4 separate regions of the Homo sapiens genome follow, and regions 2, 3 and 4 are each linked to region 1. The links are contacts of gene promoters, found by promoter capture Hi-C in blood cells and fetal thymus (Javierre and others, 2016). All regions are on one chromosome and are shown on one strand. Each heading gives the region's core, a stretch centred on a gene start or on the middle of the fragment in contact. The rest is flanking DNA. Distances are from core to core; before and after follow the strand shown.

Region 1 (4,947 bases), core at 333-2,832:
TGTCAGCCTGGAACAGAACACCTGCCTTCTGGGTGAGCATGGGGATGAATTGTCTCTGTGCTGGCACTCACTTTGTGAATATTGCATAGATGTGTGCATTTCAGGCAGTGGAGCTGCTGCTCAACTTGGAACACACCTGGGGACCCCAGGGGCTTGGGGTGGGTGCAGCCCACACAAGGAAACTCGACCTTGCAGTTGGCAGGTTCAGCAGGCACCAAGGAACCTCGTTTTGTTTTTGACGTTTTTATTGGGGTCTAATGTACACAACGTGTAACCACCTTAAGTTACAGCTGGATTAAAATTGATTTATGTGGCCGGGTGCGTTGGCTCACGCTTGTAATCCCAGCACTTTGGGAGTCCGCGGTGGGCGGATCATCTCACGTCAGGAGTTTGAGAACAGCCCAGTCAACACGGTGAAACCCCATCTCTACTAAAAAATACAAAAATTAGCCGGGCGTGGTGGCGGGTGCCTGTAATCTCAGCTACTCGGGAGGCTGAGCCAGGAGAATGGCTTGAACCCGGGAGGCGGACGTTGCAGTGAGCCGAGATCGAGCCACTCACTACACTACAGCACTCCAGCCTGGGTGACAAGAGCGAAACTAACGTCTCAAAAAAAAAAAAAAAAAACAAAAACCAAAAAAACAACAAAACCCCCCCCCCCACAACTTGATTTATGTGTAAACCCGAGTCGTCATCACCCAAAACAAGATGCAAAACGTGTCCACGGGCTGAACCTTTCAAGATACAGAAAAAGGGCCAGGGGTGGCCCTCTCCCGGAATCTCAGGCTGGGAACCTGGTATCTAGTTCCCGCCCCTCACTGGGCAGATGGGGAAACCGGGGCTTGGGGCGAGAAGGTCCCCAGGCAGAGCTGGGAGCACCCCTAACTCTTCGCCAGCTCTGGGGACTTGGCGCCCTCTCCAGCAACAGCGAACTTGGGCGCCCGCGCCCCAGCAAGTCGGGTGGGGGAGATGGTGACACGGAGGGCGCGGCAGAGCGCGGCTCCTCCCCGGGCGGGGCCGACCTGCCCGCGCGCACCGACGCCCCGCCCCCCGCCCCGCGCGCGCGCTCCCGCCAGGCTAATTAGGCGCGCGGTTTGTTTACAAACACGGGCTCCCGGCAGGTGCGCGCCGCCCCGCCCGTGCGCGGCCGGGGTTCGAGGGTGGCTCCCGCGGGCCTCGGGGTGCCCGGACGGGGGCTGCGGTGCTGGCTGCGTGCCCGCTTCTTCCATGCCGTCCTGGGGCACCGGAAAATCCGCCGCCAGGCGCTGTCCCCGACACGGGGTGAGGAGAGCCGTGCGGGCCCGGGCGGGGAACGGCCCACGGGGTCCCAGCGTTGTTGCCCTGCCGGGCGGGCGCCGAGCCCCGCCCCCGCGCGCCCCCCGGGCCAGGCCCGCTCTCGGCCGGGTCGGCGGGGCGGGCGGGGGCCCCCGGGGCGGGGCGCGGCGCCGGCGGGGCCGGGACATGTAGTCCGCGCGCCCGCGGCCTCCCCTGGGCGGCCCCGGCGCGGGCCCGGCCGCGGACTACGACTCCCGCCAGGCGCCGCGGCGCAGCGCATGAGCCCTGCTCGGCTCCGGCGCGTCTATTATGCTGCCGGGGCCGGCGAGCCAAAGAGGAGCCGGCCGCGCGGGCCGGGAGGGGACGGCCGCCGGAGCCGCGAGGCCAAGTACGCCTTTCTCTTGCTTCCTTGCGCGCGCGGGGCGGCGGGCGGCGCGGGCGGCGGCGGGCCGGGCTGGGCCGGGGAGCGCGGCCCCGAGCGCCCCGCGCAGTCCGCCGGCGCGTCCGGGTGAACCGGGCGCCCGGGGCCGCCGCCGCCGCCGCCGCCTTTGTGCGCGGCCACGATGCAACAAAGCGCGGCGGCCGCCCGGGGTCGCGGCGGCGGTGGCGGCGGCGGTGGCGCGGGCTCCGCTCCCCTCCTCCCGCTCCCGCTTGGCCGCCTCCGTCCCGGACTCGGGGCGTCGCTGCGGCCGGGGCGCGCAGCCCGGAGTTGGCGCGGCCCGCGCGCCCCGCGCCAGCCCGGCCTCCGCGCGCCCTCCCTCACGGAAGGGATTTTTTTCCCCCTTTCCTCCGCCCGCCATCTTTCGAAGGGGGAACCCAGGGAGGACGCGGAGGGGGAAGGTGCGCGCGGCGGCCCCGGCCTGCGGCCGTGCGCTCCGCGGGGCCACTTTCCCCGCGCCTGTTCCGCCGGCCTCGCTCCCGAGCCGTTGCTGGGGCCCGCGCCTGGGGACCGTCGCCGCGCGCCGCGGCCGGGGCGGGGGGCAAGGCCGGGCTCGGCCCTGGGCTCTGCGCGGCCTCCTCCCAGAGTTACGGGCCCAGAGCTGACTTTGAGCCCCCCTGAGTTGCCGGATTATTGCACCCAAACCAGGGGGAGACCCAGTTCCCGTTTTGAAATCAGCCTGAAAATCGCTTAATCCGGGCGAGGGCGAGTTGGAGCGGGAGGGACGGGGGTGCTTCCCCTCCTTCCCACTTTTGGGGGGCGCCGGAGTGACAACGTGATACAAGCCCATCCGGGGAGAAATGCGCACCCCGAACCGTGTACACCCACATGGCCCTGGTGGGCTCTCTGTGAATAAAGCTGGGGCGTGCGGGAAGTCTTATTCCACCGGTTGCTCGTTCGGGGGCAGGGCCGGGATGGGGGCTTCGCGCGGCCTCCTTTCCCTGGAGGGCGAGAACTCGGCCCGCCGAGACCCACCGGGGGCAGGGACCCGGCGTCCATCGTGTGGGTTCCTCCGTTCGACCCAATCCTTGAGTGGTTGCGATCTTTAATTTTGGTTGAAAGCTTTCTGCTCAGAAATAGATACTGGGATTTCTCCCCCTTACATTAAACTTGGTCATTGTCTGCAAAAGTTAACCAGGAGGGGAGACTGTAGTGCATTGGTGGGCAGAGTAATTGGGCTGGAACTGCAAGAGGCAGCTTCGTGTGTCCCGTCCTCCCCCGCCCTACCCTGTGAGAAGGAACAGAAGAGGAAAAGAGTTTTCTTTTTACCCTGCTCTTTTGTAGGCTTTTCCCCTTACTCTTTTCTTTAAAATGGAGGGTTTTTTTTTTTTCCTGGGTCCATGTAGTATGCCTGGGGAGATCCTGGAATCTATGCAAAGTTGTATGGCATTTTTCTGGGGAAAGTAGTTTGTTACTGGCTTCCAACGGGGTCTAAGGAAGGTCTGAACCCCTGCAAGGGGCTGGCCTCGGGGGTTAGGGAGCCCTCCCTCCGGGTTCTTCCCTGGCAGCCCTGATGCAGCCTCTCATTTGCAAATAAAGGTCTGTGTTTGCCGTTTTCTCTGTTGAGGCCTTGATGGGTGCTGGTGGTTACTGATCATGAAAGATAAGGCACACGCTGTAACAGGACGGGCTGCAGGCGAGCGAGGGGCATTTCTTTCTGACCTTCCGGGTAGCCTCAGAGGCCCGGTGCCTCAGCAGGGCACCGGGTGCCTGGAAAGACTGTGGGAGCAGCTCCAGCCTGAGCCCTGCCGTTGGGACATCCGGGGAGGAGGGATTTCAAAAGCTTTCTCCGAGTGGGCAGTCACTCCATTTTTATTTTTGTTTTGTTTTTAGAAAGTAGAGTAATTACTTTCCTTTGACAACAGCTCGCGCCTGCTTCGGAAGTGAGTGAGCTTTGAATGAAGGACGGGACTTGCAAACAGTGCCTGCCCTACACTCCGAAGTAGTCATACCCAGAAAGTGAAAGTGGGGGTGTGCAGAGCGAAGCAGCCAGGCCTGCTGCAGCCGGTGCTACCTTCCTCTACCCTCTTCCTCCAGGCTCTGGAGATGCCAGCCGCGGGAGCCCTGTGCACCAGGCGGCAGTGATGGCCTTGTGCGATTCCTGGTGCCACCAGGAAGTGCCACCACTTTCCCTGAGGCATGGTGGCTCAGGGTTTCCCAAGTGGGGTGATTGGCACAAAACCAACAGCTATGCCCAGTTGTCGATGGGAAGAGCCATGTTTTGCTGTGGATACACACGGTACCGGGGCGGGGTATGGGGAACCGGGGCCTACTCTTCCCAGCGTTGCTGCCTGGGAGGTGGGGGCATGCCTGAAGTCGTGCTGCGGGTCTCTTGGTTTTCAAAGCAGTTAACGCAGTTGGTCAGAGGATCCTCCTCTTGCTTCCTTGACCGGTCATCAAAGTATAACTGACCTGACGGGGTTCCTGTCCTAGGCAGGTTCCTTTTTTTTTTTTTTTCTCTTCTCCTCTTGAGATGGAGTCTCGCATTGTTGCCCAGGCTGGAGTGCAGTGGCACGATCTCAGCCCACTGTAACCTCTACCTCCCGGGTTCTAGCAATTCTCCTGCTTCAGCCTCCCAAGTAGCTGGGATTACAGGCGTCCGCCACCACGCCCAGCTAATTTTTTGTATTTTTAGTAGAGACAGGGTTTCACTGTGTTGGACAGGCTGGTCTCGAACTCCTCACCTCGTGATCCACCTGCCTTGGCCTCCCAAAGTGCTGGGATTACAGGCATGAGCCACCGTGCCTAGCCAGCAGGTCCCTTATATCACGAAGCCAGTATCTGGTTGAAGCTAGAAGGTAACTGGATGAATCATGGTAGAATGCAAGGCTTCTTGCCGTAAAAGGTTTTGGAACTTGCGGGTCTGCCTTGGGCCTTCCCGACCCCTGTGGCTCCGCCCCCTTGTTGGAGCAGAAGAGATGCACAGGTAGCAAAGCATGATGGGGTGCCAGGTGCATTTGGGTCAGCGTTTGCCAAGAATGGCCTTGCTCCTGTGTTTTTGTTGGTACTGCCACCTTGTAGAGGTGCCCAGCTGGTGGCGGAGCATAGGGTTTTCTTTGCCTATTCTCCTTCCTGTGAAATCATGGGCACAGACATCATGGGCCCCTGTGCCCGGGCCTCCCTGCTCTGGTTCCTGGGCTCCTGCCATCTGAGAGGCTTGAGGGCTTGCTTATTTGTTTGTTTGTTTGTATTTTTAGTAGAGATGGCGTTTCACCATGTTGGCCAGGCTGGTC
Region 2 (4,597 bases), core at 1,259-3,758, 370 kb before region 1:
TGAGGCTCAGAGAGGGCAGGACCCGCCCCCCTCCCTCCTTGGCGCTCTGTCCTCACCTTCCCTGACCCTGCTCCTGCTGCAGGCCAAGCCCACCTGGCACCCAGTAGGGCTGTGTGCCCAGCTTCCCGAACAGCTGACTGCTGAGGCATCTTGGTGAAACTGGGATGAAGCCGGCTCCTGACTGGACCGCTTGCTGCAGTGAGCAGGGGTATGGCTGGGTGGCGGAGCGCCCAGGTGATTCTGACTCACAGTAATCAACCCCACTGCCGGAAGCCACTGTGGCACCCACAGGCCTGGAGGAGCAAGAAGGGACTGGAGGACCCGCGCTGTCCCAGCGTCGCCAGCAGGGGGCAGGGCTGCTTCACGCCGCAGCAGGCGCCGGGGCATCTGTCCTTGGGGACACTCGGGTTCCTAATCAGCTCCATAACCGAGGTGGTGGGATGGGACCTGGTCCTGCCTTGGCCTCCCTTTGGGCAAACTCCTTCCTCGCAGGGCCTCTGCGAAGTGTGGGGACACAGCTCTGCAGGGGCTGCGGGCTCCCTCCGGGCATCTTTACAGAGGGGGCTCGCTGCAGAAAGGCAGGTAGAAAATGCCAGACTCAATGGCCTGCCCGCCCCGATGCTGTCTGAGTCCCTGCCAGGGGGCGGCTGTGCCCATCTGAGAATCCAGGGGACTGGGCTGAAGGCTCTATGTGGCCCTTCCCGATGTCTCCACGCCCCAGCCCCTTCCTCCTGAGGCCCCTGAGACTTCCCTGGCCTCCTCTGGTCACCCAGGTGCAGCTGTCCTTGGGCACAGCGATGACCCCTCCTCCGCCCTGAGTGTGCACTGCCTGCACAAAGTGCAGGGGCTGCCCCGTTCTCTCAGGATGTGCTCTCAGGATGCGCCCCATTCCCCACGTGCGCCCTTCCTCCCATCATGCTGTCTGCTGGCTGATGGCAGGGACGGAAGCACAGGGAGCTCAGCGGTGCCCATCCAGGAGCCATGTGTCCCTGCCCCCACCGCAGGTGCCTGAGCCCCTGCCCCCTCCCTTGCCTCTCAGTTCACAAACCTCCAGCCCACACTGGCTTGCTGTCGTTGCCTGAGAGTGACGGTGAAGAACTTATCAAGCCCAGCATCTCTGGTCCAGAGGGACTGCCCTGGGCAGGAGTCACCGTGGCAACCAAATGCCGAAGGGAGGCCCAAAGCTGGGTTGTCCTGCGATGCCGCGCCAGCCAGCAGCCTGGAGTTTCTGCCTGGCTGGTGGGAGCACGGGGTGGTGTTCGTGTCCCTGGAGGGGCACCAAACTCCCCCCACGCTCACCCCAGGAAGTCCCATAGTAACACCCTGCCCCATTATTAAAACAAGCACCAAGGCCCTGGGAACTTACGGGAAGCTTCCCCTTCCTGGGCTTCTCCCAGAGCCCCGAGGGGTCCGTGTCCTGCAACCACAGACCTCAGCTTTCCCCTTTTGTCCCTGCGCTCTGGCCTGAGAACTCCGAGGGCTCACTCTCACCCCAAGGACGGGTGTCCGTGGAGGCTGTGCCCAGAGTCCAGGGGGCCACCAGGGCACAGAGCCAGCTTCCAACCGCTGGTGTCTCACACAGCAGCACTCAGCCATGTGCGCAGATGTGCAGCAGGATGGGAGGCCTCTCAGCAGGGAGGCCACATCCCAGCTCCCGAAGCCCCAGGGCCGACCCCTTTTCCAGACCACGGAAGGGGCCCACGTGCTTCATGTGTGCAAGATTATATGCAGAGAACATGGGTGGGCCAGACTCAGCAAGCCAGGTCGGCAGAGGGCTGTGCCGACACAGAGGAAGCGGGTGGCCACTTCAAGGACTCCGCCCTCCCTCGGGGTCCATTCACACTTGGACCCCTCTGGAGAAGCCCAGGTTGGTCTCAGTGGGCAGAGCCGAGGCCCTGGCAGGGGAGGGTGTGAAGCCCAGGGAGGATCCTTTGGATGTGCAGCTGGGACCCAGGGGGGCTCCTAAGATGGCAAAGTGAGTCGAGACTCCTGTGGCACCCACCATTCAGCCATGGTTGGGGGCCCAGGGAGTGGCCCAGAGTTTCAGAGCACAGCCGCACAGCCGCCGTTCCCAGGAAGAGGGAGAATGTTGGTGTGGGGTCCTGACTCCACCAAGGGAGGCTGGCTCAGCCCCGCACCCAAGACCCCCACTGTTCTGTCGATCCTTCCAGGGCTGAGTGCAAGTGTGTATGTTCATGAGTGTGTGTGTGCACGGGAGCATGTATGGGTGTGTGTGCATGGGAGTGTGTATGGGTGTGTGTGCATGGGAATATGGATGTATGTGCATATGAAAGCGTGTATGGGTGTGTGCACGGGAGCGTGTATGGGTGTGTGCAACTGAGCCTGTATGGGTGTGTGTGCATGGGAGCATGCATGGGTGTGTGCAAGGGCAGCGATGGGTGTGTGCACGGGAGCAGTTCTGCATGGGTGTGCATGCCAAAGCATCTGTGTGAGCACGTGGTGTGTGCATGCGTATGAATGGGTGCGAGGGTCCATGTGAGCGTGTCCGTGCCCGTGTTTGAGTATGCACGTGTGTGAATGTGTGTGTGCTCATGAGGGGAGTGCCATCAGGAAGTCCCTGCCTTTCAGGTGGCAGGCCGTTCCATTTTAAGTCTCACCCGGGAGCCACCCTAGCTCTGGGCACAGGCCACACTGTCCTCTGCCCACCACCACAGGGCAGGACCTGGACCTTCAGAGCCCCACTCCCCATCTTCAGTGTGTCTGGTGCCTCTCGGGGAGGGTGCCTGGCTGGACACAGGTGCATGAGAGGGCTCCGGGCACGAAGACCAAACCAGGCCGGGAGCAGCCCAGCCCCAGACAGCATGGAGACAGAGGGCGTTTATCACAGGAGACAATGCAGATGGGGCATCATTAACTTGTTGTTATTGGGGCAGCTGGGTGACATCGTGTGTTCCTTGGCCCTCTGGGTGCACCTCCTGCCCATCTGGGCCAGCGTGGCTGCAGAGGCGTGGATGCTTAGGCAGCCTGGGGAGGGACAGGTGGGAACACTCGTGCTCCGCAGGCGCCCACAGGCCCAGTGCCCACGGCTGCTGAGAGGTGCCCTCACGGAGGCCCCAGCCCCCTGCCCCTTGGAGGAGCAGCAGAGCCCAGTGGACAGGGAGAGAACTCTCAAGAGTATGGCCCACAGAGGATGCCAGCCTCGCCGCACAGGACCGGCAGGTAGGGTGGACAGGAGGGTGGGCTGGTGGGGGCTGATCGCGGGCCCTCCCGCTCCAAACAAAAAAGTCCCCACACGGAACAAACGAACTGAATGGCGATGTATTTTAAACGCTCATATTTTGTTTCTCCTCTCACACTTCTCCCTTTGCGTGTTCCTTTTCCACAATTCTAATGCTACTGTCCATCAAACCCTGGCACCTGAGGCCACGATGTTTCAGAGACAATCGTACGGAGAAGCCACTTCACAGTCAGTCACAGGAAGGCCAGAGCCGGCAACAGGACACAACAGAGCAAGGCTTTAAAAATTACTCGAAAGGGAAGAAAACCCTTGAAAGCCTCAGGCCCACCCTCCTGCCCCGAGGGAAGACACCCCCATTGCGGCGGTTTCCTCCCAAGCCTCGCCGCCGTCACAGGAGCCCTCTCCTCTGCCATCGTCTGTCCTGGCGTTTCTCGGACGAAGCTTTCACCTCAATCTCTAGAAGCAGAAACGAAACAGTCCCAGCCCTCCCCCCGCCATATCCAAGTATACATGAGGGATAAAATTACATTTGTACAAAAATAGATTTTTTTTTTTTACCTTTCCAGATGCTTTAGACATTTTCTCTTATCTTTACTCTCTTTATGGATCTGTCATCCTCTCTAAAGTATTAGCTATGCGTCCCAGCTAAGGCATTGCTAAGGATTGGGAACGGCTAAAGCTGTCTGCTCCAAAGCATCTTAAAATAGATGCATCTCCTGCCTTGAGATATTCATTCGAACCCGGATTTCACCAAAGGAGGGTCCTTATGTACTTGCTTACACGAAGCAAATTTATAGGAAAACAGGGGAAACGTCTTGATTAAAAATAAACACAAAACACTGGTAACCGCTCCGCCTTTCCTGGGTGGCGCTGGTGTGCGGCTCTCTCCACACGCGTCTCTCTGTACAGCACATACATGTTTACACCACACACCTGCGTGGACGAGCACCAGATCACGCACCCCAGCTCCACGACAGGGACACCAGCCGACTACCCACAGGCTGCACATTCCGGCAGGGCCCTCCTGGGTGCCCCACGGGGAGGGGCTCGGGGTCATCTCCAGCACTGCCACCAGGCCGCCAGCCCAGAATTCTTGGGAAACACCGTGCTCGGAAAACCGAAGGTCAGGGCTGTCCTTCCCAGAGGCCGTGTGCTTCCAGGGTGCGGAGGGCCGGCGGCTGACACAGGCCCCAGGGTGGAAGGTCCTGGCAGGCCAGCTTCCAAGCATGCCCGACGCAGCCTAGGGGAGCCCGGCTCTGTGGCATCTTCACTCCTGAGCCTCAGGAGCCCCATCTGAACGGCAAAGCCGGGAGGTGACCAGCTGAGGAGCGTGCCTGAAGGTGCCGGGGTGCCCTGGGTCCCCAGGAAGCAGCCACTGGGAAGTGGGGGCCCTGCGGG
Region 3 (4,900 bases), core at 871-3,370, 270 kb after region 1:
GTGCAGGGAGAGGGAGAAGGTGTCGTGGCTAAAGAGACCAGCACAAGGCACTGAAGGGGGAATCAGAGTGGCCGGGAGAGAGCGATGCTGGGGCCAGGAGGAGGCGGTGGGCAGGACACGAGGGCTGGCTTCCTGGGCGTCCTCCCAGGTCCGGGGGCCACCTGGCTGCCTGCATCCCTGAAGACGGGGCTGTCACTGCTGTTGTCCCCTGCTTGTGGAATCCAGACACCATGTGGAAGCAACAAGGGTGACCCTTAGGGGTTCCCCACCTGGCACAGCATGAGGGTGAGCCCTGAGCCAGTGCAGGCCTCGGTGCTCAGGGCCTGGGGGCAAGATTCTGAGCCCTCCTGGGGTCTTCTTTCCTGGGGGGATGTCAGGGGCTTCTCTTTCCTCCAGTGTTGGCCCTTTTTGGGGGTGGGATGGGAGGTTGAGAGCTCCAGCCTGCATCCCAGCCGGGACCTGACCTAGAACCACCTGGGACTCAGGAAGAGCAGGGGCACCCCCTCTCCCAGCACGCCGGCAGCCCTCCTGCGGCCCGGTAGCTTCGGGAAGGGGAGAGCAGCCTCCTGGCCGTTGAATGTGTCCACGTGCAGGGAGCTGTCAGGGGAGGGGCCTGTTGGTTGCGCACCTACAGCCTGCTGGGAAAAATGGACGGGCTCACTGCAGCCCCGAGCTGCTCATTAAATCTGTGTGCGTGTGTGCGTGTGTGTGCACCGTCCAGGCTTCTGATCTACGGGGAGTACTGCAGCCACATGGAGCACGCCCAGAACACACTGAACCAGCTCCTGGCCAGCCGGGAGGACTTCAGGCAGAAAGTCGAGGTAAGTCCTGCCAGGCGTTGGCCCTGGCCCTGGCTCCAAGGTTGCAGCTTGCAGGCCAGAGCTCGTTAGGTACCAGCCTCTCTCTTGCCCATTTGTTGGGAAGGTGGTGATGGGGGTGATGACGTAATGGTTTTTTGTAGATTTTTCTTTTTTGCATTGTGTTGGGTTGGGGAGTGGGTTGGGTGGAGGTCACCATCCCAGGCCAGGACACAGTGAGACTCCCCATGGAGAAACGTCCTTGGGACTGAATCTGACTCAGCTGGGGGCTCTGGCTGACCCCTGATCCTGGCCTCTGCTGACTCCAGGGAGCCCCAGGTGCCATTTGCTGGGAACTGTGGGACCACCCACCCCTCATCCATCCTCACCCCAGGCCCAGGGCGAGTCTCTATCAACTGGGGGCTCTGACTGACCCCTGATCCTGGCCTCCGCTGACCCCAGGGAGTCCCGGGTAACATTTGCTGGGAACTGTGGGGCCACCCACCCCTCATCCATCCTCACCCCAGGCCCAGGGCAAGTCTCTGTCAACATCTAGTGTTTCTCACGTGAGCCCCTCCCAGCCCCTCCTGTTCCCAGCTGGAGTTTCCAGGCTCCATCTGGTTAGTACACCCTGGTTTCTGCGTGGAGCCTGGTGAAGAGCCCCCTGGCTCTAGCAGTGGTGGAGGCAGCGTGGCCCCCCAGTAGAGATGCACGATGCCCCCCAAGTCCAGTCAATGAATGGGGGAATGCCCTGGTTCCTGGGAGTGGCCCCACAGCTCAGTGCAAGTTGGTGCCCCACCTTGCTTCTCCCAGAGGCCAGACCAGAGAGGGGTTGGTGAATGGGGGATGGCCTGCTGCCCCTTCTCCAAAGGACCTTCTCCAAAGGACCTGGCCTGGCGGAAGAGTCAAGGCCACATCCAGACAGGCCCAGCAGGCGCCCCGAGAGGGTTTCCGTAGCATCGCACGTGTCTCACTGCGTCCCAGTGTGGCCAGTGCAGACACGGCAGGGTGGGAGCCATGTGTTGTGAAGCCCCCCCCTCTGCACACACCTGGTGCATGGACTGGTTCCGGGAGCCTGGCTAGAGAAGGGCCAAACGTCTGGGCCTGAGTTCTGGGCTTAGGTCTCCCCTCTCTGTGGGCGGGGGTACAGGTGGGTGGGTTCAGGCTTTCCTCGGGGAGGGCTCTCCCATCGCCCTGTCGCCCTCCCAGGAGTGCACACTGAAGGTCCAGGATGGAAAATTTAAGCTGCAAGACCTGCTGGTGGTCCCCATGCAGAGGGTGCTCAAATACCACCTGCTCTTGAAGGTGAGGCTCTGGGCCCCGGGTGCCTGCGGGGTCATCACTGCTGGAGTCAGATGAGGGCTGGCAGCTTCCAGGGGGTATAGGTTGCAGCCCACAGACAGATTAAGTTGAATATAGACAAGTCAGTTCATGCTTAGCTCATAATCACCGCTCAATGCATGTGATGGCCGATTATCACAGTAAATACACAGAGGAAAATGATGAGTCCAATCACTAAAGAGGTCAGAAAACTGAAAGAGACAGAAAAGCGTCCTCACACCAGGAATAAGAAAGCTACTGTGGTTGGTCTCTGAGCTTCCTGGTGGCCATGGCAGAAATGGACATGGAAGGGCTTCAGGAAAGCCAGACCTGGGAGGGAAGGCGGTGGTTTCTGCCCGGCACCTTGCGAGGCCCTTTTCCCGTGGAATGCTGGCACAGCGCCTTGCTTTTTGCTGCCTTCATGGCCCTTCTCACGGTCACTCCCTTCCCTTATCCACAAGGTTTGGGAGCGCCCCTGCCAAGAAGTGGGGTATCCCCTGTGGAGGAGTCACTCTCTGTCCTTTGGTGTCGGGCAGCCAAACCCAGCCTGGCTGGCGGGTGGGGGTGGCTTTCTTCTGAGGACTTGGTTCTGTGCACACCTCCTGCCCCAGGTAGGGGCCAGGGCAGAGGCCAGAACCCCCGAGTGGTAACACATGACACTCTTCTCACCCTTCCAGGAGCTTCTGAGCCATTCTGCGGAACGGCCTGAGAGGCAGCAGCTCAAAGAAGCACTGGAAGCCATGCAGGTGTGTGGGTAAACTGAGGCAGGGGAGAAGCCACCGTCTGGCTTAGCCCGTGTTCTTGGACTGGAATTGGGCTCATTAACGAGCCTCAGTTTTGACTGTGGACAGTTTCCTGGGACAGCAGGAGTTGGGGCAGGGCAGGGCAGGGCAGTGGGTGAGACCCACAGGAGGTAGAGGTGACGGGTGGAGGGCACTGCAGGTCAGGTGCCCCCTCAGGTGTCCCGAGTCCTAACCTCACCTGTCCAACAAGACCTCCCTTGAGCCTCCCCTCCCCCTGCTTTTCCCCCAGGCATTGGCCTCCATTCTGGGCTTTCTGGCCCAGTGCTTCTCACTCCCAGCACTGAGGCTTCTGCTTCTAAAATGCCACCTCCGGTGCCATCTCTCAGCTACCTGCCTGGGGAGCTCCTTCGCTCCTGGCTGTTTCGAGGGCCCCCAGCCAGCCATGCCTCCCTCTCTCCCCTTGTCCGGGTGAGCTCAGCTCATGCCACTCCCTTGCTCAGAAACCTTCCGTGGCTCCCTCTGCCCATGAAGCAGGCATGGGCTCCTCACTCTGGCACTCCCGGCCTTCTGCAGGATACTTGCCCCTGATGTCGCAGCTGTGTTCAGCACAGTTCCAGGCAGGTTTGATCCCTCCCAGGCTCCTGCACGTGCCCTGCACTTCCCCGGCTCCGGGTGTTGGCTCAGGTGCACCCTCCTCCTCGTCACCTGGCCACGTCCTGCTCATCCTGCCTTCACTGTGGACAGAACGTTTTCCAGGGAGGATCGCCCCCCACTGGGTTCTGTCCTCAGGGAACTGGCTTCCTCGTGGGTGGCACTCTTCCTCCTGGACACACTTGTTCGTGCCATCTCCTTCCCAGCCAGGCATGTGTCAGCCATAGTCACCTGTGTCCCCAGGCCAGGCACAGCACCTGGCATGTGGTAGGTCCCCTCCAGCTGCATCTGGGTGGAGGGATGACGACCCCCCCCACATCTCCCTCGTCGGGAGCACAGGACACCTCTGCCAGCCCCCCTCAGGGCTGCAGTCCTGCCCTCTGACACCTGGCCCCTGCCCTCTGGGCAGCCCCCCTGGGCTTTGGGCCCCCTTTTCCTTTCCCAGGTACCTCATTTAAGGAGCTCCCTCTGGGTGGGGGAGGGGCTGTAATCTGTCTCTGTCTATAGCTGCTGTTGGGCTGGGACGGGAGTGGGGCCAGTGCTTGGCCGCCGGTGCTAAGAGGTTCTCTGAGCAGGGCTTGTGCTCGGGGAGAAATTTACTCCAAATCCTGTGGGCACTCGTGTGTGGGCACGGGAGGTGGTCCCAGAGACCTTCAGATTCCCGCTCGGCTGCACTGGGCAGCGAGCACCCTGAGGAATGCTCCAGGAAAGCCTCCTGCCATGACGGGCTGACAGAACTTTCTCGGTGTCAGCTCTGCAGCCCCCAAGCCGCCCCTCTCCAACACCTGCTCTGGCCTGTCTGCTGTGAGCCACGGTGTGTGAGCCAGCGTGGATGCGTCCTCGGGGGCTCTGAGACAGTGACAGCAGGTGCAGTGGGCCGTGCACCCGGGCCCTGAGTGTGGTCTTGCGTTTCATACTCTCAGCACTCGGTGTCTGGCTGGCGAGTGGCTCTGAGCCCCTCGACGGGATGGTTTCCCAGGAGTGTAGCTCACGGTGCTGCACAAAGTACTCGGTGACTTGCGGGTGTGCGTCTGCCTTTCTGAGAGCCACCGAACCTCATCATGAAACTTCAGGGCTGGGGGGATTTTAGAAGTCTTTTGATCCATTCCCAATTTATATAGGAAGTCATTCATGCAGCCACTATGGGAGTCGTCGCTGTACCTGGGCTTGATTTCCCCTAGGGACTGAGGGCTCACTCCTTGTACGGCAGCGTCTTTGAGAATCAGCCCCCGTGCCGCTGTGGGCCTGAGGTTTGTCTCCAAGGGAATTGCGGTTTTAGGTCCAAGCTCCATGAGCTGACTGCAGTCCTGCCTCTGTATCAAAGTACAGACATTTCCCTCACCTGCTCATTCATTCGGGCAACTTCCATCTGTTCCTATTTCATGCCAG
Region 4 (4,850 bases), core at 1,016-3,515, 290 kb after region 1:
CAGAGTATCAGTCCTGCTCTGTCCCTCCCCGGGTATGACCAGGGCTGCCAGCTTCTTGGGGGGGCCTTGTGGAGGTGCTTTGGTGCTGTGCCAGGCCTTAGTGCTCTCATGTCTAGGGTGGGAGGCCCTGCACCTCCCTGCCCTAACTGGCTGCCGGGTCAGCTGAGGTTGGGAAAGAAGACATTGGCTCTCCCACCCTCCAGGAGCGGGATTGGCATACGCTGAGTCCGTCTAAATGGCCCCACACTCCCATAGGCCAGGCTCGGCCCCCTTGTCCTAACCATCTCTTTCCTCTGCCAGGGTCGTCTGGTACAAACCAGGAAGTCAGGGTATTTCCCCAGCTCATCTGTGAAGCCCTGCCCTGTGGATGGAAGGGTGAGTCCTTTCCCACAGAAGCTTCTGGAGCACGGTGGCCTGGGTGCTGAGGGTTCTGGGAGCTGCCTCCTCACGTGGACATTTTTGGCTTGTTCAGGACATCCTTGCTAAATTTAGGCTGCTGTGAGCTGCTTCCTGGAGCTGGAGCCCAGAGAGAAGATGGGTGGGGGGCTGTGGGGCAGCACGCTCTCCTCTGTTTAAAGGGCTCAGCCGATCGGGTGTCGTTTCGTTGTGGTTTTAGAAACACCAAAACAGGCATTTCTGCAGCAGCTGTAATGGGGTGAAGACCAGCCAGCTGCCTTTCACCAGATTTCGGGGACTCTATAAGATCTCTTGGACTATTGCGCAGCCTTAGAGAGAAAAAAAGGCTCCCCTCAAACATAAGGATTCAAAGCTAGACTTTATGCTATTTAAAACAGAGGCAATATGGTATTTCTTTCATCTGAGGGATATGGAGCGAATTCTCGGCTCTGTGATGAAAGGCAGCAGGCAGCCTTGAGTAAATGAGTTACCCCACCTCCACCCCGAAAGGACAGCTCAGAGTGAGAGCGTGGAACCTCTGAAGGTGCAGGGGTGGGTTCCCAACCCCACTGCGGCAGCCCCGGTGCTCCCCGACCCCAGCCCCAGTCCCGTCCGCCTGTGTGCTACCTCTGCTGAAAGGGCAGGTGCTCAGCACTTAGGGCACTTTGCGTGACCAAGGGGACCAGGCGGCAGGGGAGGACAAGGGTCACAAACTCACTAGGTGGCCTGGGGCAGGTTCCTTCCCTTCCCCAGGCCTCAGTTTCCCCATCTGCATGGTGAATAGGGTGCGAGGGAAGAGGTAGTCTCTGAGGCTGTGCCCAGCCTGTGGCCCAGTGAGGCCAGGGTGGGGGGCTGTAGCCAGGGAGGGAGCCCTACCTGCTCACTGGAGCGGCAGCACCTGCCTGAGTGTGGCCACCACCAGACCCCCACCCCGGGGTTTCCAGACCTCTGGAGCAGGGAGCTTGGCTGTGGGTGTCTCACATCCACTGGCTGAAAACTTCCCGCACCTTCGGTCCTTGCTGTCCCAGGGGATCAAGTCAGTGTTAGCTGGTGGCTATGCCGACATCTGTTCCATCAGACCCACGGGGCATCTACTCAGAGATGAGGTTGTCCTGGCCACGACCCTTGGGCACCTCCCAGGCCAGGGGCGCTGGGGCTAAGTCCACAGACAGTCCCCTCCAGGGCAGCCAATGTGGGGACAGGGCAGTCACTGACAATGACCCCCTCTGAGCCCTGCTCTGTGAGTGGCCCTGGGGGGCCGTTAACACTCTTGTGCTCTGCCACCAGCCGCCCATCAGCCGGCCGCCATCCCGGGAGATCGACTACACTGCATACCCCTGGTGAGTGGATCGTGGGCTGCAGACATGGGCATCTGGTGGCCTCTTTGTTATGGGGGCATGCCCGCCGGGTCTGGGTGGTGCCTGTGAGCGGCCCAGCAGGGTGGAGGCCCCAGGCTGCCTGTTGCCATCTCCAGGGCACTGAGCCCAGTGGCTCCCAAATGCCTTCTCCCTCCTGGCCTATAACTCTCCAGGAGCCTGGGGGAGTCCTTCTCCTGTAGGCAGCTGTTAACCCTCTCTAAAACAGCTCAACTGGCTCAGATATTTCAGGGAATTAAACCCTTTTTGAATTTTATCTGCACTATATAAAAGTGGTATATTTGAGGTCACAGGTGTAATCCACTTACTGACAATACAGTTGCTTGGTGGGAACAGTGAGGCTGTTTGAAATCACAGAAGTCCCAACTGTCCTGACAGTGTGGCAGCAGATTTTGGGAGAGAGCTTGCCTTGCCCTCTCAGGGTGGGCTTCATTGCAGTACAGGTGGCAGGAAGAGCTTCGTTTCAAAATCTGTTCAAAATTCAACTGACATGGATGTTGGCAATCTCCAATGTGTTACCAAAAAAATCCACATAAGCAGTTATGCCTTTACTGCTTTTGAAATAGTGAAAATATATTTTAGGAAAGAAATTGGATCTACTGAATACGCTGAACTCCTCTGGCAGGCCCTTGGGGTCTGTAGAGCAGAAGACAGCATGTGGGACTGGCTGGTGGCCACAGTCACCCCTCTATTTAACCCCTCTCAAGATCTGTCCTGAGCCTCACTGTATCCCACTGTAGGAAGGGTCAGATGCCAGACCCCATCCACAGTGGTGCCCCGCTCATAGGGACCCAGCCTGTTCTCTTGGGTTCATTAGGAGATGAGCTCTCAGATGAGGACTGCAGAGTACTTCATGTGGCCTGCCACGCACGGAGGGCTGGGCACCCCTCAGACACTGTCCTCACTGCGGCTCTCGTTTCCTCCCGGCCCCCTCCTGTAGGTTTGCAGGTAACATGGAGAGGCAGCAGACGGACAACCTGCTCAAGTCCCACGCCAGCGGGACCTACCTGATCAGGGAGCGGCCTGCCGAGGCTGAGCGCTTTGCAATAAGCATCAAGTAAGTGGCGGCTCTGGGCTCGAGGAGACCCATCCCCCAATGCCGTTCTGAAGTGGAGAGCACCATCCTCTCCACGTCCTGAGCTCGTGGGGTTGGGGTGGACATGTCATCTGTTGCCAAGTGAGGACATTATTGAGATGAAAGCGGTGCTGAGGGGTCAGGGGGTCTCTACAGGTGTGCTGGGCAGGGCCTGAACCCCTGGCATGCACAGATGGTCCATGCTTACATCACTCCTGGCTGCCCTGTGGGCTGGGTTGGACATTTCTGGGTCATGGGAACCAGATAAGCTCAGGTACAAGTGGGTGGGTGAGATCCTGTGTGAGCTCAGGGATTTCCCAGCAGCCCCACAGGTTGAGAGAGTGGACCTGTCGTGCTGCTCTGAGGCAGCCAGGGGCCTAGGAGGGTGTCTCCTGTGACTACTGCTGCCTTGCGGCTTTGGCACAGTCTGGGCATCCTCCTGCCCTATGCCCTCTCCCTGGGAGCCGCCTCCTTGTGGGGCTGCAGTTAACTCTCCAGGAGACCGACCCTGATGGGCTGGAGCCCACCAAGCACTGAGCTGGTGGGACATTGCCCACCTGAAAGAAATTCTCAGAAAGCCTTCTGTGTGCCTGGCCTGCAGGAGGCTAAGATGGGCCTTGCCGACCAGGAGCTGGGGGTAGGGCGCACACACTCATGGTGCACATTAAATCCAGGGAGAAACAAGATGGGTGCTGTATGAAGGCCTCACAGAGGACCAGGCAGCCAGGCCACCATTTGTTTAATGACTGTTTATTACATTAGCTGATTTCCAGATGTTAAACCAACCTTGCATTCCTGGAATGTCCCACTGGGTTGTGGTGTGGAGTCCTTGCTATGTGTCTGGTTTATGTAGATAAATACAGTCATCGGCCACATAATGACATTCCAGTCTGTGAGGGACCCCATATGTGGTGGTGGTCCCGTAAGATTATAATGGAGCTGAAATGTTCCCATGGCCTGGTGACATCATAGCGCAGCCCATTACTCATGTGAGTGTGGTTATGCTGGTGTAAACAAACCTACAGTGCTGCCAGTCATATAGAAGCATAGGACAAACAATTCTGCACATACATAGTATGTGATCATCGTAATACATGAATGTGTTACTGGTTTATGGATTCACTATACAGTGCTTTTTATTTTAGAGCATACTCCTTCTACTCAGCAAAAAAATACTTAATTGTAAAACAGCCTCAGGCACGTCCTTCAGGAGACATTCTAGAAGAAGGCATTGTTGTCTTAGGAGTAAAAACAACAACAACAAAGAAAAAAAACAGGAAAGCTTATAGAATAAGGATACAAAGAATAAAATATCTTTGTACAGCTGTGTAATATGTTTGTGTTTTAAGCTAAGTATTATTACCCAAGCTTCAAAAAGTTAACAAAAATTAAGAAGTTTATAAAGTTAATTTACGATTGAAGAAAGAATGTTTTAAAAATAAATGTAGTGTAGCCTCAGTGTCCAGCGTTGATAAAGTCTACAGTGGTGCACAGCAATGTCCTAGGCCTTCACATTTACTCACCACTCTCCAGCTCACCCAGAGCAACTTCCAGTCCTGCAAGCTCCAGTCATGATAAGCACCCCATACAGCTGTCCTGTTTTTTATCTTTTCTACTGTGTTTTTACCATACCTTTTCTAGGCTGACCTCATGTTACAACTGCCTACAGTATTCAGTAGGTCTGTAGCCCGGGAGCAATAGGCTTTGCCGTCCAGCCTAGGTGTGGGGTGTGCAGTAGGCTCTGCCGTCCAGCCTAGGTGTGGGGTGTGCAGTAGGCTCTGCTGTCCAGCCTAGGTGTGGGGTGTGCAGTAGGCTCTGCCGTCCAGCCTAGCTGTGGGGTGTGCAGTAGGCTCTGCCGTCCAGCCTAGGTGTGGGGTGTGCAGTAGGCTCTGCCGTCCAGCCTAGGTGTGGGGTGTGCAGTAGGCTCTGCCGTCCAGCCTAGTTGTGGGGCGTGCAGTAGGCTCCATCATTCAGCTTAGGTATAGGGTGTGTGGTAGGCTCTG

Evidence for each region. The method cuts DNA at HindIII sites, captures the fragments that hold promoters and counts their contacts. A CHiCAGO score of 5 or more calls a contact.
Region 2: a fragment that was not itself captured here is called in contact with the fragment with the promoter of BRD3 in region 1 in 1 of 17 cell types (naive CD4 T cells); the score reaches 5.3 in naive CD4 T cells.
Region 3: a contact is called between a fragment that was not itself captured here and the fragment with the promoter of BRD3 in region 1, in 1 of 17 cell types (M1 macrophages). The highest score is 5.3, in M1 macrophages.
Region 4: a contact is called between a fragment that was not itself captured here and the fragment with the promoter of BRD3 in region 1, in 1 of 17 cell types (total B cells). The highest score is 5.2, in total B cells.

Annotation. Positions count from the first base shown.
Region 1 is chr9:134,064,661-134,069,607 of GRCh38, reverse strand. BRD3 (bromodomain containing 3) reads left to right here and starts at 1,582. Exons shown (of 12, transcript NM_007371.4): 1 at 1,582-1,663. RefSeq lists silencers at 977-1,706, 1,887-2,136. The HindIII fragment of the contact is 7,653 bases long and covers 1-2,778 here.
Region 2 is chr9:134,439,250-134,443,846 of GRCh38, reverse strand. It overlaps RXRA (retinoid X receptor alpha), which reads right to left. Exons shown (of 10, transcript NM_002957.6): 10 at 3,262-4,597. Among named protein-coding and RNA genes, the nearest start is that of MIR4669, 62 kb to the right of the region's middle. RefSeq lists an enhancer at 1-509. The HindIII fragment of the contact is 2,268 bases long and covers 1,375-3,642 here.
Region 3 is chr9:133,793,631-133,798,530 of GRCh38, reverse strand. It overlaps VAV2 (vav guanine nucleotide exchange factor 2), which reads left to right. Exons shown (of 30, transcript NM_001134398.2): 10 at 722-821; 11 at 2,007-2,102; 12 at 2,795-2,863. Among named protein-coding and RNA genes, the nearest start is that of SARDH, 58 kb to the right of the region's middle. The HindIII fragment of the contact is 6,769 bases long and covers 1-4,900 here.
Region 4 is chr9:133,772,914-133,777,763 of GRCh38, reverse strand. VAV2 (vav guanine nucleotide exchange factor 2) reads left to right here. Exons shown (of 30, transcript NM_001134398.2): 23 at 301-375; 24 at 1,684-1,736; 25 at 2,713-2,829. Among named protein-coding and RNA genes, the nearest start is that of SARDH, 37 kb to the right of the region's middle. RefSeq lists a silencer at 2,632-2,858. The HindIII fragment of the contact is 3,733 bases long and covers 399-4,131 here.